Linked DNA regions of Homo sapiens: regions 1 and 3 are each linked to region 2. The links are contacts of gene promoters, found by promoter capture Hi-C in blood cells and fetal thymus (Javierre and others, 2016). All regions are on one chromosome and are shown on one strand. The core of a region is centred on a gene start or on the middle of the fragment in contact, and the rest is flanking DNA. Distances in the headings are between cores, read along the strand shown. Region 1 overlaps PPP2R5E (protein phosphatase 2 regulatory subunit B'epsilon). Region 2 holds the start of SNAPC1 (small nuclear RNA activating complex polypeptide 1). Region 3 holds the start of SIX4 (SIX homeobox 4).

Region 1 (4,478 bases), core at 1,785-4,284, 1.8 Mb after region 2:
ACATACCCAAAAGAAATGAAAGCCAGAACTTAAACAGGTATCTGTACATCATGGTCACAGCAGCATTATTCACAATAGCCTGAAGGTGGAAGCAACCCAAGTGTCCACCAATGAATTAATGGATTAAAAAGTATATGGTATGTATATACACTGAAATTATTCAGCCTTAAAAAAGAATGAAATTCTGACACCTGCTACAACAGAGATGAACACTGAAGACACTTGACTAAGTGAAATAAGCCAGTCACAAAAAGACAAATATTGCATGGCATCACTTATAGGAGGTACCTAGAGTAGTCAAATTCATAGAAACAAAAAACAGAATGGCGGTTGCCAAGGGCTGGTGGGGGAAACAGGGAGTCAGTGTTTAACAGGTACAGAGCTTCAGTTGGGGAAGATGAAAAGGTTCTGGAGATGGATGGTAGGGACAGTTGCATGACAATGTCAAGGCACTTAATGCACATTTAAACATGGTTAAGATGGTAAATTTCATGTTATGTATATTTTACCATAATTTTTTAAAATGAGAAAAAAGACATGAAAGCATTAAAGAAAAAATACATTAAAGCATGTGTCCAAATTCTTCTCATGCATGCTTCTTTCACTACCCACAAAACCAATACCCTGACTATGAGTGGTCAGTGAAGTCCTAATTTAATTGTTTACCATAAGATCCAAGAAATTAGTGTAAGTTTTTAAATTCCTTCTAATTCTAAAAAAAAAAATTTAACTGGCTTCCTCAGAATGAAGTCCTTTACAGATACAGAAGTTAACACCCATTACATATCTACTTCAGATTAAATAGATTACTAAAAACCAGTGTCTCCCAACTTTGTATTTCAAGCATAGTTCAATCTACAGTGTTTCCTACATTTTCTTTCCAAAGCCTCATAATGACTATTTTCATTTTTACCAGCAAAATCTCTAGTCAAAATTTTCTCCCCCAAAGCTCACAGGAGCTCATCTTTACTGACTGGTAGATATATCATCTTTACAGTAATCAGTATTCAGTTTCCAAAAATTTTGTATAAACATTGGAATCTTATTTATGAATCTCTCTCTCTTTTTTAAAAAAAGTATTCATATGGAAAAAATAGAAGCTTGAAATATCCTAAGCTAAATTTTGAGGATCTTTTCCGGTTACATTCCAGTTTTTCTTATAATACCTTCTGATTTCACAAACTGTTACAGAAATAAGTCTGCAATAATGAACTAGCAAACCAGGTTGCCTGGTTTCCTCCAAGCCACACTAAAGCTCATTGTGTTGTTCATATCCCCTTTCTCCCATTCTTCAGTATTCAGCACATAAACATCCACCTCAAAGGTAAATTCTGATAGTTTCCACACTATAAAAGCTATGTTCTGATATTTTTCAAACAACACCTGTTCATAAACATGAAGCAAACATGATGAAAATTAAAAGGGACAAAAAGTAACCACATACCCAAACAAAAGTTGAAATGCCTAATTTAGAAAAAATTCTTCATATTAAAAACGTGTTGGGCCGGGCATGGTGGCTCACGCCTAAATCCTGGCATGGGAACACCATGGCAATTCGAGACCAGCCTGTGCAACATGGCAAAACTCCATCTCTACAAAAAAATGGAAAAATTAGCTGGGCGTGATGGCATGCTTCTGTAGTCCCAGCTACTCGGGAAGTTGATCCCGGCTACTCGGGAAAGGGAGGATCACTTGAGCCTAGGAAATAGAGGCCACAGTGAGCCCCAACCTGCACTTTCTTTTTTTTTTTTCCCCCGAGACAGAGTCTTGCTCTGTCACCCAGGCTAGAATGCAATGGCACGATCTGGGCTCACTTCAACCTCTGCCTCCCGGTTCAAGCAATTCTCCTGCCTCGGCTTCCCGAGTAGCTGGGATTACAGGTGCCACCACCGCGCCTAATTTTTGTATTTTTAGAAGAGACAGGGTTTCACCATGTTGGCCAGGCTGGTCTCAAACTCCTGACCTCGTGATCTGCCTGCCTCGGGCTCCCAAAGTGCTGGGATTACAGGCGTGAGCCACCACGCCCGGCCTCAACCTGCACTTTCACTCTGTCCCCACTGAACTCTAGCCAGAGTGACAGCATGAGATTGTCTCAAAAGAAAATTTAAAAAACCAAAAAACTTGTTTTTAACAAATTTCAGGCCAGGCACGGTGGCTCACACCTGTAATCCCAGCACTTTGGGAGGTCAAGGTGGGCAGATCACTTGGGGTCAGGAGTTCAAGACCAGCCTGACCAACATGGTGAAACCCTGTCTCTATTAAAAATACAAAAATTAGCTGGGCATGGTGGCGGGCACCTGTGCTCCCAGCTACTCGGGAAGCTGAGGCAGGAAAATCACTTGAACCCAGGAGGTGGAGGTTGCTGTGAACCAGCCTGAGCAACAGAGGGAGACTCTATCTCAAAAGATAAAAATTAAAATTAAAAAATTAACAAATTTCAAAGAAAAGATCATACTAAACAAGTATGATCATCATACTTGTACATAGAAAGGTATATCTTTTCTACTTGTACTATGTGAAAACAAGAGTGCATGTAAACAACTATAAATGGACCATTTTTTTCTTGATTTTTAAAAACGAATTCTTCCAAATACCATTTTCTATATGTAAATTAATGAATGGTACCATCTCCTCTACTAGGGTCTACTTCCTAAGACCATAATCTGTAGTTGTCATTGTATATAATGTATCCCTAAACGTCAACAGAAGAAAAAATGAAAAACACAAACCCAGACATCTTAAAGTTTCTCTAGTACTTAGTTTACCTACTCATCAATGTGAGATATTCTCCTGATAATGTTTCTTTTAACTTGCCCAAAGACAGACTAAATTGAGCCTTTAAAAAGGAGAGTGGGTATATTTGGTCACACATTAGTAACTTCAATGTATGTGAAGTATCCCATCCCTTCAATTTGCAACACATATAAAACTCTACAAAAAGGAAATTATATATAGATGTAGAAAGATCAATTGAAAAAGAATGCATCACCTGGTCATGAGCCTTACCTTTTAGCAGCGGCAGAGGTGTTAACTCAATAGGCTTGCCTTGAGACCTAAACTGTGAGGAACTTTGCGACCTCTTCTGTCTGGCTTTTCTGACGGACTTCCGAGAAAATCCGTCTACTTTATCCACTGATGGAGGAGTAGTTGGTGCTGAGGACATATCCCTACTGAAGAGAAAGAAGTATCATAAACCCATACATTCCCAAGGTGGAAGCATACATGTGAGTTATACAAATTCTAAAATTCCCATATACAATATTCATGAAAATGGGAATATGTGCTAAAGAAAATAAAATCAGTTAAGAAAAGTCTTATCTTGGCCAGGTGCAATGGCTCACGCCTGTAATCCCAGCACTTTGGGAGGCTGAGATGGGTGGATCACTTGAGGTCAGGAGTTCAAGACCAACCTGGACAACATGGTGAAATTCAGTCTCTACAAAATTACAAAAATTAGCCGGGCATGATGGCAGGTGCTTGTAATCTCAGCTACCCGGGAGGCTGAGGTGAAAGAATCGCTTGAACCTGGGAGGTGGAGGTTGCAGTGGGCCAGGATCCCGCCATTGCACTCCATCCAGCCTGAGTGACAGAGTGAGATTCCGTCCTTTAAAAAAAAAAAAAAAAAGGGCTGGGCCCGGTGGCTCACACCTGTAATCCCAGCACTTTGGGAGGCCGAGGTGGGTGGATCACTTGAGGTCAGGAGTTCGAGACTAGCCTGGCCAACATGGTGAAACCCTGTGTCTACTAAAAATACAAAAATTAGCCAGGCGCAGTGGCATGCACCTGTAATCTCAGCTACTCAAGAGGCTGAGAAGGGAGAACCGCTTGAACCTGGGAGGCGGAGGTTGCGGTGAGCCAAGATGGCACCACTGCACTCCAGCCTGGGCAACAGAGCAAGAGTCCATCTCAAAAAAAAAAAAAAAAAAAGCCAGGCACAGTGGCACACACCCGTAATCCCAAGGCGGGCAGATAACTTCAGGTTGGGAGTTCGAGACCAGCCTGACCAACATGGAGAAACCCCATCTCTAATAAAAAAAAAAAAATACAAAAATTAGCCAGGCATGGTGGCGCATGCCTGTAATCCCAGCTACTCGGGAGGCTGAGGCAGGAGAATCACTTGAACCCGGGAGGCGGAGTTGTGGTGAGCCAAGATCATGCCATTGCACTCCAGCCTGGGCAGCAAGAGGAAAACTCCTTCTCAAAAAAAAAAAAAAGAAACAAACAAAGAAAAGAAAAGTCATATGTTAACAGGAAAACATGAAAATTTAGTGAAAATAATTTAAGTATCACGGAAACAATATGAGAACTCTAATGTATTGTGCCACTCCATTATAAGCATTAAAGATACTCATCTAGGCTTAAAGAAATCTATGCTGCCTGCCCATTTTCTAACTGCAAAGCTCTTCACATCTTCAAGTAATTTTTGGAGCTATTCTGTAACTGGAAAACTTCCATTGATACATTTTCCCAAGATACTT
Region 2 (4,756 bases), core at 507-3,006:
CAAAATTCAAGGTAGTTATTTATTTATTTTTTGAGATTCGGTCTCACTCCGTAGCCCAGGATGGAGTGCAGTGGCACGATCTCGGCTCACCACTGCAACCTCTGTCTCCTGTAACCACCATCTCCCAGGCTCAAATGATCCTCCCACCTCAGCCTCCCGAGTAGCTGGGACTACAGGTGTGCACCACCATGCCCGGCTAATTTTCACCATGTTTCCCAGGCTGGTCTCCAACTCTTGTGCTTAAGCAATCCTCTTGCTTTTGTCTCCCAAAGTGTTGGGATTTCAGGCGTGAGCCACCGTGCCCAACCAGTAGCTGTGATTAAAGTAGGGTACAGTCAAAGGAATAGGTCAGAGGAGGAAATCGCAGATTGATGTGAAGGCGTTGGTAATGTTCTGGTTCCTACACAGGTGAAAGGTGTACAGGTGTTTAACTGCTATGCTTTTTATCTCACACATCGCATAAATTTTTCTGTGACATAAAATATTACATAACATTTAAAAAACAGGTCAAGAGGGCAGGGTGCAGTGGCTCACGTCTGTAATCCCAACACTTTGGGAGGCCGAGGGGAGCGGATCACCTGAGGTTAGCAGTTCGAGACCAGCCTGGCCAACATGGTGAAACCCTGTCTCTACTAAAAATACAAACAAAACAAAACAAAACAAAATCCGGTTGGAGTGGTGCATGCCTGTAATCCCAGCTACTCGGGAGGCTGAGGCAGGAGAATCGCTTGAACTCGGGAGGCGGAAGTTGCAGTGAACCGAGACCGCGCCACTGAACTCCGGCCTGGGCAACAAGAGCGAAACTCCGTCTCAAAACAAAAAACAAACAAATCCAAACAAACAAACAAACAAACAAAAACAGGTCAAGGATCAGAAAAGTAAAGTGAGTTGACACTCCATTTACACACAGAAAGCCCAATGTTTTTCTATTATATCAGGATACCTCTTCTAAAGAATGATAGCTTACCTTTCAATCAGAGAAATGATCTAAAGTTCAAAATGTTACTCCATAGCTAGCTCCTGGAGGAAGGAAGCTAGGTGGCAGCGTGTACACAAAAAGGCAATTCATCCAAATAATAATATAACAAGAATATAACAAGTAGGTATTTTCTGCTAAGTGCTATGTAGCACAGGGGTGAATGCGTGGCAGGGCAGGAGGAGGGCTGTTTACAAGAGGGTATGAAATGCAGCTCTTCTTTTCAAGAGTGGTTGCAGAATGCCAGGGCTACAAAGAGAGGGCCGCACATTAAGCATCGTATTATGTGGGTACAGAGTATTAGGGTTCTCGATGACCAGAAGGAGAATGAGTGCAGTTTGTTTCCTAGCAAGCCTTCTTTAGCTTCTCTTCCCAAGTGGGAGTGGGGTTGGGGTTGGGACTGTTCTTTCCTAGCTCAAAAGTTCACTTATGTCACACTAGGGTCAGTTTAAAGGAGAGTGCTAGTAAGGGTAAAGTCAAGTTACATAACCTAGCGGAAAATGAAGACCTAAAACCGCTCGTGAGCAAACACAACACTTTAGACGTAAACCTCTTCCAAAGAAGGGTGGATCTCAGCACTCTGGGTGAAAGCAATCTCAGCCAGTAAAACATCAGAACGCTTTCACGCACGCGCAGTAAGCACACGACCGGTGGCAAGAGCCCGGATAAAGGCGGAGCTAAAGGTGCCGGATAATGCATCACGGAGCGCGTGTGCGCACGCCGTAGGGGGCGGGCCGTTCGGGCTTGGTTTCCTGGGCGACCACCGCTGGCTAGTCCGTTAGAGGCGTGCGGGCTTCGGAGGCGTGCGGGCTTCGGGTGCCATGGGGACTCCTCCCGGCCTGCAGACCGACTGCGAGGCGCTGCTCAGCCGCTTCCAGGAGACGGACAGTGTACGCTTCGAGGACTTCACGGAGCTCTGGAGAAACATGAAGTTCGGGACTATCTTCTGGTGGGTGTTTCTTGTCCACCACCCGCCTCTCCCTGCCCGCAGGTGGTGTAGAAAGTTGCCTCCTTCCCGGCGATATTGCACTTGTGAAGGGCTGAGAAGAGCGGCAGTCACCGAAGGTTGCCTCCATGACTCCTGGACCTTCCCCTGTGCTCAGGCAACGCGCTTTCCCTGCTCTATTTCATTGTGCCCTGATGGTTGTTGCGGCCTCCTCCCAAATATGCGTCTCTGCCTGGCCTCCCTTCTAAACTCCTCTCTCCCATCTCCACCCTGAGCCAGGCCACTATCATTTGCCCTTCCCCAGTCTTGTTCTAGGACCTGATGTTTAAAAACACACAAGCAAAGACAAAACCCTTCAAGATTGAATTAATTTTTCCTCCAACAACCAAAGTTGTCTTTTTTTTTTTTTTTTTTTTTTTTTTTGAGACGGAGTCTCCTTTTGTCGCCCAGGCTGGAGTGCAATGGCGCGTTCGCGGCTCAGTGCAACCCTTCGCCTCTCAGGTTCAAGTGATTCTCTTGCCTCAACCTCCGGAGTAGCTGGGATTACAGGTGCCCGGCACCACGCCCGGTTAATTTTTTGTATTTTTAGTAGAGACGGGGTTTTACTATGTTGGCCAGACTGGCCTCGAACTCCTGATCTCGTGACCCGCCCGCCTCGGCCTCCCAAAGCGCTAGGATTACAGGAGTGAGCCACCGCGCCCGGCCCAAAAGTTGTTTTTCAAAAGTGCAAATTTGATTATGTCACTCCCCGACTTATTACTCTGTAGTGGTGCCCATTGCCTTTGGGATAACGCTTGAATTCTCTGACTTGCCAAGACCATTCCTCACTGGCCTTTGCCTATCTCTCCAGCTTCGCCTGCCAGTCCCCTCCATGCACTCACTTTCTTGCTCCAGCAGCTGCTTTTTTTTTTTTTTTTTTTTCTTTGGGCCCTCTACAGGCTTTTCCTAATCCTGGAGTTTCCACCGCAACTCTCTTGTTTTGTCCACCTTATTCTTCACTCAGGGTTAAGCTCAAATGACATCCTCGGGGGAAGTCTTTTTTGCTCTTCTAGACTGAGTACGCTGTTCATGTTTTTTCCCCGCATAGCACCCTGTTTTTATTTTATGTCACCGCTTTCCACATTTTGTTGTAATGGTATAGTTGAAAAGGCAGTGTGGGATTGTTAAGGGCATAGGTTATGGAACCCAATTGGCTGCATTTGATTGCAGGGTCCGCTATGACTTGGGGCAAGTTACTTGAGTTTCCATATCTGTAAAATAGAGGCAATGATAAACCTCATAGTAGTTGTGAAGATTAAATGAGCTGATATATCAGAAATACATTCTAAGTGCTCAATAAATGTTCATTATTATTATTTTTTTTTCTTGAGACATAGTCTTGCTCTGTCACCCAGGCTGGAGTGTAATGGTGCGATCTCCTATCACTGCAACCTCCACCTCCCGGGTTCAAGAGATTCTCCTGCCTCAGCCTCCCGAGTAGCTGGGACTACGGCTTGTGCCACCAAGCCTGGCTAATTTTTGTATTTTTAGTAGAGACGGGATTTCACCATGTTGGCCAGGCTGGTCAAATGTTCATTATTACTACCGTTTTAAAATTTTCCTTTGACTAGACTGACCTCTGTGAGGACAGTGACTGGATGAATCTATTTTTATTACCATAGTACATATAATATTAAAAAGGCGAAATAACTGATTTTCTGAATGAGTTAAACCTTATGATTAAAACTTTTTCTGAACAAAATGTAAAAACTCATTTTCTCTCTGTCAGTGTAAGCAAATTACCTTTGTAGTTTTTTAAATTGCAAGGAATGGAGGATGAAGAGCTGTTTGTTGTACAGTTAATAAAAGGAGAGAGACTTTTTTTTTTAAATGGCTACTACATGCCATTTATTTATAGCTTTATTTATTGCATAAGACAGTTATAAAAAGCAGGTATAATTATCCTTGTTTTATAGATGAGGAAATTAAGGCTTAAAGAGGTTAAGTAATTTCTCCACCATTACAAAGATAGTGGATTGTAGAGCAGATGTTGGAAACTATGTATCTGCCTGTTTCTAAAATCCGTTAATATTCCACTGTACCACTTCTTGGGGGGAAAAATGCATTTAAGGAAAAAGCTAAAAATGTAACATTTACATTTTCTAGTAGGGAGAACCTAAAATGATAAAAGAAGCAGGAATCACTAGAGTGGTGGATTTTCTTGAGAAATTACTTTGGTTACCGTAACTAGAGTAGGCATTTTGTATTCTTTTCCTATATTTATTATTTGAAGACCCAAAATGTCCTCCTACTACCCCCTTCCCTTCCACCCCTGCATTGTAATCAGATATAATAGAGCCCGTGTTTATGGCTGCAGGGCAAATGTCTTTATTGTTTGTTGCTGGTTTTAAAGTAAAAGTTCTACATATTTATATTTGTATAGCGTATTAGTCACTCGCATCAACACTTTGAGACATTTATTTTAGCTAATGTTTTATTTAAAATCTGGCATTTTTTATCTACTAATTTCAGGTCTTACATAGAAACCTATAATATGCACAAATGTGGCTTCATTGTTTTATCCAAAGTGGTAAGAAGACTGTTACATTGACTTTTTTAAGGCCTTGTTTTTTAAAATTTTTTGTTAACTTAGCACAGCAGAACAGTTTCAGATAGTTTATTCATTATGCTGTTTATATCCACAGAAAATATATGTGAACCTCGAAAATTTGAGACACGTCTCAGTTAATTTAGAAAGGTTATTTTGCCAAGGTTGAGGACGCACCCGTGACACAGCCTCAGGAAGTCGTGTTGACATGCGCCCAAGGTGGTCAGGGCACAGCTTGGTTTTGTAC
Region 3 (4,726 bases), core at 1,474-3,973, 1.0 Mb before region 2:
TTATGGGGTGGGGCGGGGGGGACGAAGAAGCCAGCAGTGGAGCGTGGGGGAGTCCCAGGGAGCGTGCCCGGCTCGCGAGCGGAGGCGGCGGAGCAGCTGGCCTGCTCGCGGTGCCCCCTTGCCACCCTCTGCCCCGGCCCTGCGGATTCCGTTGGTTTCCGAGCGCGGGATCCGCGGCCTCTAGTGGGCGCAGGGCAGGTGGCTCGGCGTAACCAAAGCGCCTTCTCTGGACCTCTCCGCATATCTGCGGAAGGCGCACGCACATCCCGGTGCACCTTTTGTTTTGGTTACCGCGAGGGCCGGATAGGGCACCAAGCCTCCCTCCCAGCCTTGGGCGAGGAACGCCGGAGCCCGAGCCGTCGGACCCCCACAGGGGCCCAGAAGCGGCAAGGGCGGGCTGAGACCGGCTCTGGAATGCGCTGGTGATCACCTTCACCTGGCGCAGGCGGGCTGGATCCCCGGCTCCCAGTTTGCTTCCCCGAGAAGAACCTTCGAGCTGCTTTTGGATTCTTTCTCTCCTATCCCCGCGGGGCTGGAGACACCAGGTCTTTAGGCGACCTTCTCCTTACTTTGTTTCGTCCAACAAAACACACAGACGCACACACCAAGTGTCTGACTCGGGAGGACGCACAAAAGAGGTGGAAAATCCGGTATTTTTTTTACCAGAGGGGGAAAGCAGTCTGCCAGGCAAAAAGCTCAAACCCAGTGGGGTGGGAGCGCCCCCACTCCTTTGCTGCCGCCCGCCGTAAGCCGGCCTGCCCCCCACCCATAACTACCGTACCAGGAGGGAGCCAAGCAGCGTTCGGGGGCCGAGGGAGGAAGCAGCCCTTCAGCCCTGCTACCCCGGCTGCGCTGAAACCCGATCCTAAGGAGTTCAGAATCAGGTTTCAAAACATGACAGAGCCGAGCTGCACCAGCACCCCACGTTGCCGCGGCCGCTAAGGGAACCATAGGGGCAGGGTGAATGATTAACTCTGTCATATGAAACCTCGACGTTCCGAGACCCCTTCTGCGCCGCCAGTCCCACAACACTCTCTTCCCTTCACCAGAGCAGCCACCGCGACCTCCAGCGCAGGCCCGGGGGGCGGCTGAACCCTGGGGATCCGGGAGCGTGCGCGCGCGCCAGGCCCGGTGTGACCTCGCGGAGGTGCAGACCCCGGCCGGCGCCGGCAGTCTCTGCGGGCCTCGGGCGGCAGGGAGAGCTACGGTGCCGGTGTCCACATTTGCTTCGTTAGCCCCTCCAGAAACGGGGAGAGGGTGGCAACTTCAAAGCCAGCGGGATGGGGGTGGGAAGCTGGGCAGCAGTGACCAGCCGAGGTGGGGGCGGGGACTGAGACCTAGGCGGGCGACCAGAAACTTCTGGGGGGAGAGGGGGAGGGTAAGGAGGGAGGTTCCCCCGCCCCCCGCCTCCGCCGCCCCCTACCTCTGCCGGCCGGGGAGCGAGGTAGGGGGCGGGGAGAGGTGGGCAGCCGGACCAGGCTGGTGGGGAAGGTAAGCGCCATGTTTGCGAGCACTTGGAGGAAAAGAAAGCCGGGAAGGGGGTGGGGGAGAGGAAGGGGGAGGAGGAGGAAAGTTGGCGCTCACCTTTTGGACTGGGTCTCGGAGGGGTTCCTGTCGCGCTGCCGGCGGTTCTTGAACCAGTTGCTGACCTGGGTGAGGGAGAGGCCGGTGATCTTGGCCAGGTGCCGCTTCTCGGCGGGCGAAGGGTAGCGATTCTGCTTGTAGAGCTCCTTGAGCGCGTTGCGCGACTTCTCCTTGAAACAATACACCGTCTCCTCGCCGTCCCAGATGGTGCGGGGCAGGGGGAATTTCCTGCGCAGCCGGTACTTGTCTACGGCTCCCAGCGGCCGGCCGCGGGCTCGCTCGGCCTCGGTGTAGCGCGCCTTGTACCAGAGCTGCTGCAGCAGCGGGTGGTTGGCCGACTCGAAGCTGTGGCTCTCGAGGATGCTGTAGAGCTCGGGGTAGATGCCCTGGTGGAAGGCCACGAGCGCCCGCGCCTTCAGCAGGCTCTCGTTGCCACGTAGCAGGTCGCTCTGGGGCAGGGACCACAGGAACCGGGCCAGGCGGTCCAGGTTGCCCCCCTGCTGCAGTGCCTCGCACACGCAGGCGACGTGGTCGGGCGAGAAGGCCAGCGGGGTCTGCGCGGCGGCGGCGGCGGCGTGGTGGTGCCTGCCCAGAAGTTCCGAGTGGAGTTGTACCTGATCCGCCGCCGCTCCGGCCGCCGCCGCCGCCACTGCCCCTTCCTCTCCGCTCACCCTGGCGGCAGCGGTCGCGGCGTCCCCCGGCTCCAGGGGAAAAGGGGCTGGAGCCGGGGGGCTCAGCCCTACCGCCGCGCCCCCCGCCACTTCTCGGTGCGCCTCCTGCCCTTCCGAGGCGCTTTCCATCCCATTCTCTTGCTTGATGTCCGCCGCACTTGCGATCTGCCCGGTGGGGGAGGAAGAGGACATTTTTTGTTGTTTATTTTCCTCCCTCCCTCACTCCCTCGCACTCTTTTCCTCTTTCTTTCCTCCTCTCTTACTCCTCCTCCTTCGTCTCCCTCCCTCCTCTCCCCCTCCGGAAAGCCCACTCCCTCCCTCCTGGTTTCGGCTGTATCTGGCCGATCAGGTTTCCCCCCGGCCACGCAGTCACCATTAAGATAGCTGTTAGAGCAAAGTAGTGTAAACGGATAGCTGCTTTCTGCCGTTCCCCCAACGTGACTCCTCCGGTTGCTGCATACTATATGGCAGTGGCGGCCGGGCCGGCCCGGCCTAGCCACCTCATTGGCTATTTCGCATTCAGAGGGAGGAGGAGACACAGTTTCTATCCCTGTCGATCACCCGCCTCCCACTCCACCCCTCGCCTTTCCCTCCCCTCCTGACCCCCAGGCACCTATACCTGAAGGAAAACACCGACATTCTTTCCAAGCCACGCTCCTGGGCGGGAAATTACCTAATGTGGCCTGAAAACTGGACAACTCTTTCAAACAGAGGCCCTACAATTCCAGAGGGAATATTAATTGTGTGGCCTTAAGGTCTGGATGGTTAAATTTTTAACAAAGAGACCACCCTCAGCATCTAGATGACAAAACTTCAGAGGACAATTCAGAAGCCCCCCAGTATGTCCCTGTTCCCCATTCTCCCTCTTTTTGGATGTCTTTATCAAGGATTTTGTATTCAAAACGGTCAAAAATAAAATGACACTAGGAAATGTTCTAAGGGGCAAGCATTTACAGTAAATTAAAATTCCAAAGAGGGAAAAATGCTTGAAAACCTTATAATTAGCAGCATAAATAGCACACTGAGAAGACAAAAACAAGAAGCCTTCAAAAAATGTACTTAACCTTAAGCCACGTGGAGGGCTGGCAACCCAACTGAGTTGAACATGGTATAATTAAACATGTAGAATATTAAACCATAAGTTTATCCTGGATGAGTCGTGTGGAAGAGATCTAAGCTTTAAATATGGAAATTTAAGTTTTCTACATGAACTTTTTAATGTAAGTATATGAGTATTTCTTTTTTAACGATGATAGGCTAGAAACACTGAATGTGCGGGTGTCATCCAGATCAGTGCAGGATCAGAAGCCCTTTTCCACAGCATAGACAGATTGCCCTCTGGTTTGATGCTGAAGTGGGGGTAGAGTCTTTTGTTGTTTGCAGTTGTGTCTCTTTCCTTTGTAATTTGCACAAGATCTTAATTCCAAAAGGGATGATCCATTTCTGCTTCTTTGATTACTGTAGGTCAGTTGGGTTTGCCTGCTGCTGCTCTTTCTCAAAATTCAACTTTTTTTCCCCCCGAGATGGAGTCTCGCTCTGTCGCCCAGGCTGGAGTGCAGTGGTGTGATCTCGGCTCACTGCAAGCTCCGCCTCCTGGGTTCACGCCATTCTCCTGCCTCAGCCTCCCGAGTAGCTGGGACTACAGGCGCCCGCCACCACGCCCAGCTAATTTTTTTTTTTTTTTTTTTTTTGTATTTTTTAGTAGAGACGGGGTTTCACCACGTTAGCCAGGATGGTCTCGATCTCCTGACCTCGTGATCCGTCCGCCTCGGCCTCTCAAAATTCAACATTTTAATGACATCATCCTAACCTTTGCTTCAGGGTGGCCTTGTATTGTGTATGCTTCCCAGCTACTCATAGCTGCCTACTTCAGCATATTACAAAGCAGCTGTCTAGGTCACCTGCCGTCATGATAAACTTGGTGAGATTTTCTTTTTTTTTGTAGACAGGCTTTATTTTATTGCTGGTCAATCAAGATGTCATTTGATGTAGGATTTAACTTGTTTTTGCATTACCCTAATGTGTTGACATCGCTGGTAGATTTAAAATTTATAACAACAGAAAAGGCCATATTATTTATTTGCTTATTTATTTATTTATTTATTTATTTATTTTTTGAGATGGAGTCTCACTCTGTTGCCCGGGCTGGAGTGCAGTGGCGTGATCTTGGCTCACTGCAACCTCTGCCTCCCGGGTTCAAGCGATTCTCCTGCCTCAGTCTCCTGAGTAGCTGGCACTACAGGCGCGTGCCACCATGCCCGACTAATTTTTTATATTTTTAGTAGAGATGGGGTTTCATCGTGTTAGCCAGGATGGTCTCGATCTCCTGACCTCGTGATCCGCCCGCCTCGATCTCCCAAAGTGCTGGGATTACAGGCGTGAGCCACCGCGCCCGGCCAAGACCATGTGTTTCTACTCCACTGGAAACATCCAGTTAGGTACCAAGCTTCAGGACAATAACTGAGATTCAG

Evidence for each region. The method cuts DNA at HindIII sites, captures the fragments that hold promoters and counts their contacts. A CHiCAGO score of 5 or more calls a contact.
Region 1: a contact is called between a fragment that was not itself captured here and the fragment with the promoter of SNAPC1 in region 2, in 1 of 17 cell types (neutrophils). The highest score is 6.6, in neutrophils.
Region 3: a contact is called between the fragment with the promoter of SIX4 here and the fragment with the promoter of SNAPC1 in region 2, in 1 of 17 cell types (naive CD8 T cells). The highest score is 6.6, in naive CD8 T cells.

What each region holds. Positions count from the first base shown.
Region 1 is chr14:63,536,523-63,541,000 of GRCh38, forward strand. It overlaps PPP2R5E (protein phosphatase 2 regulatory subunit B'epsilon), which reads right to left. Exons shown (of 14, transcript NM_006246.5): 2 at 3,007-3,170. The coding sequence starts at 3,163. Among named protein-coding and RNA genes, the nearest start is that of PPP2R5E, 4.6 kb to the right of the region's middle. The HindIII fragment of the contact is 3,873 bases long and covers 1,099-4,478 here.
Region 2 is chr14:61,760,664-61,765,419 of GRCh38, forward strand. SNAPC1 (small nuclear RNA activating complex polypeptide 1) reads left to right here and starts at 1,757. Exons shown (of 10, transcript NM_003082.4): 1 at 1,757-1,925. The coding sequence starts at 1,798. RefSeq lists enhancers at 1-495, 496-1,239, 1,083-1,172, 1,240-1,983, 1,984-2,727. The HindIII fragment of the contact is 7,963 bases long and covers 1-4,756 here.
Region 3 is chr14:60,721,628-60,726,353 of GRCh38, forward strand. SIX4 (SIX homeobox 4) reads right to left here and starts at 2,724. Exons shown (of 3, transcript NM_017420.5): 1 at 1,585-2,724. The coding sequence starts at 2,447. RefSeq lists silencers at 789-858, 2,137-2,206. The HindIII fragment of the contact is 4,809 bases long and covers 1-3,430 here.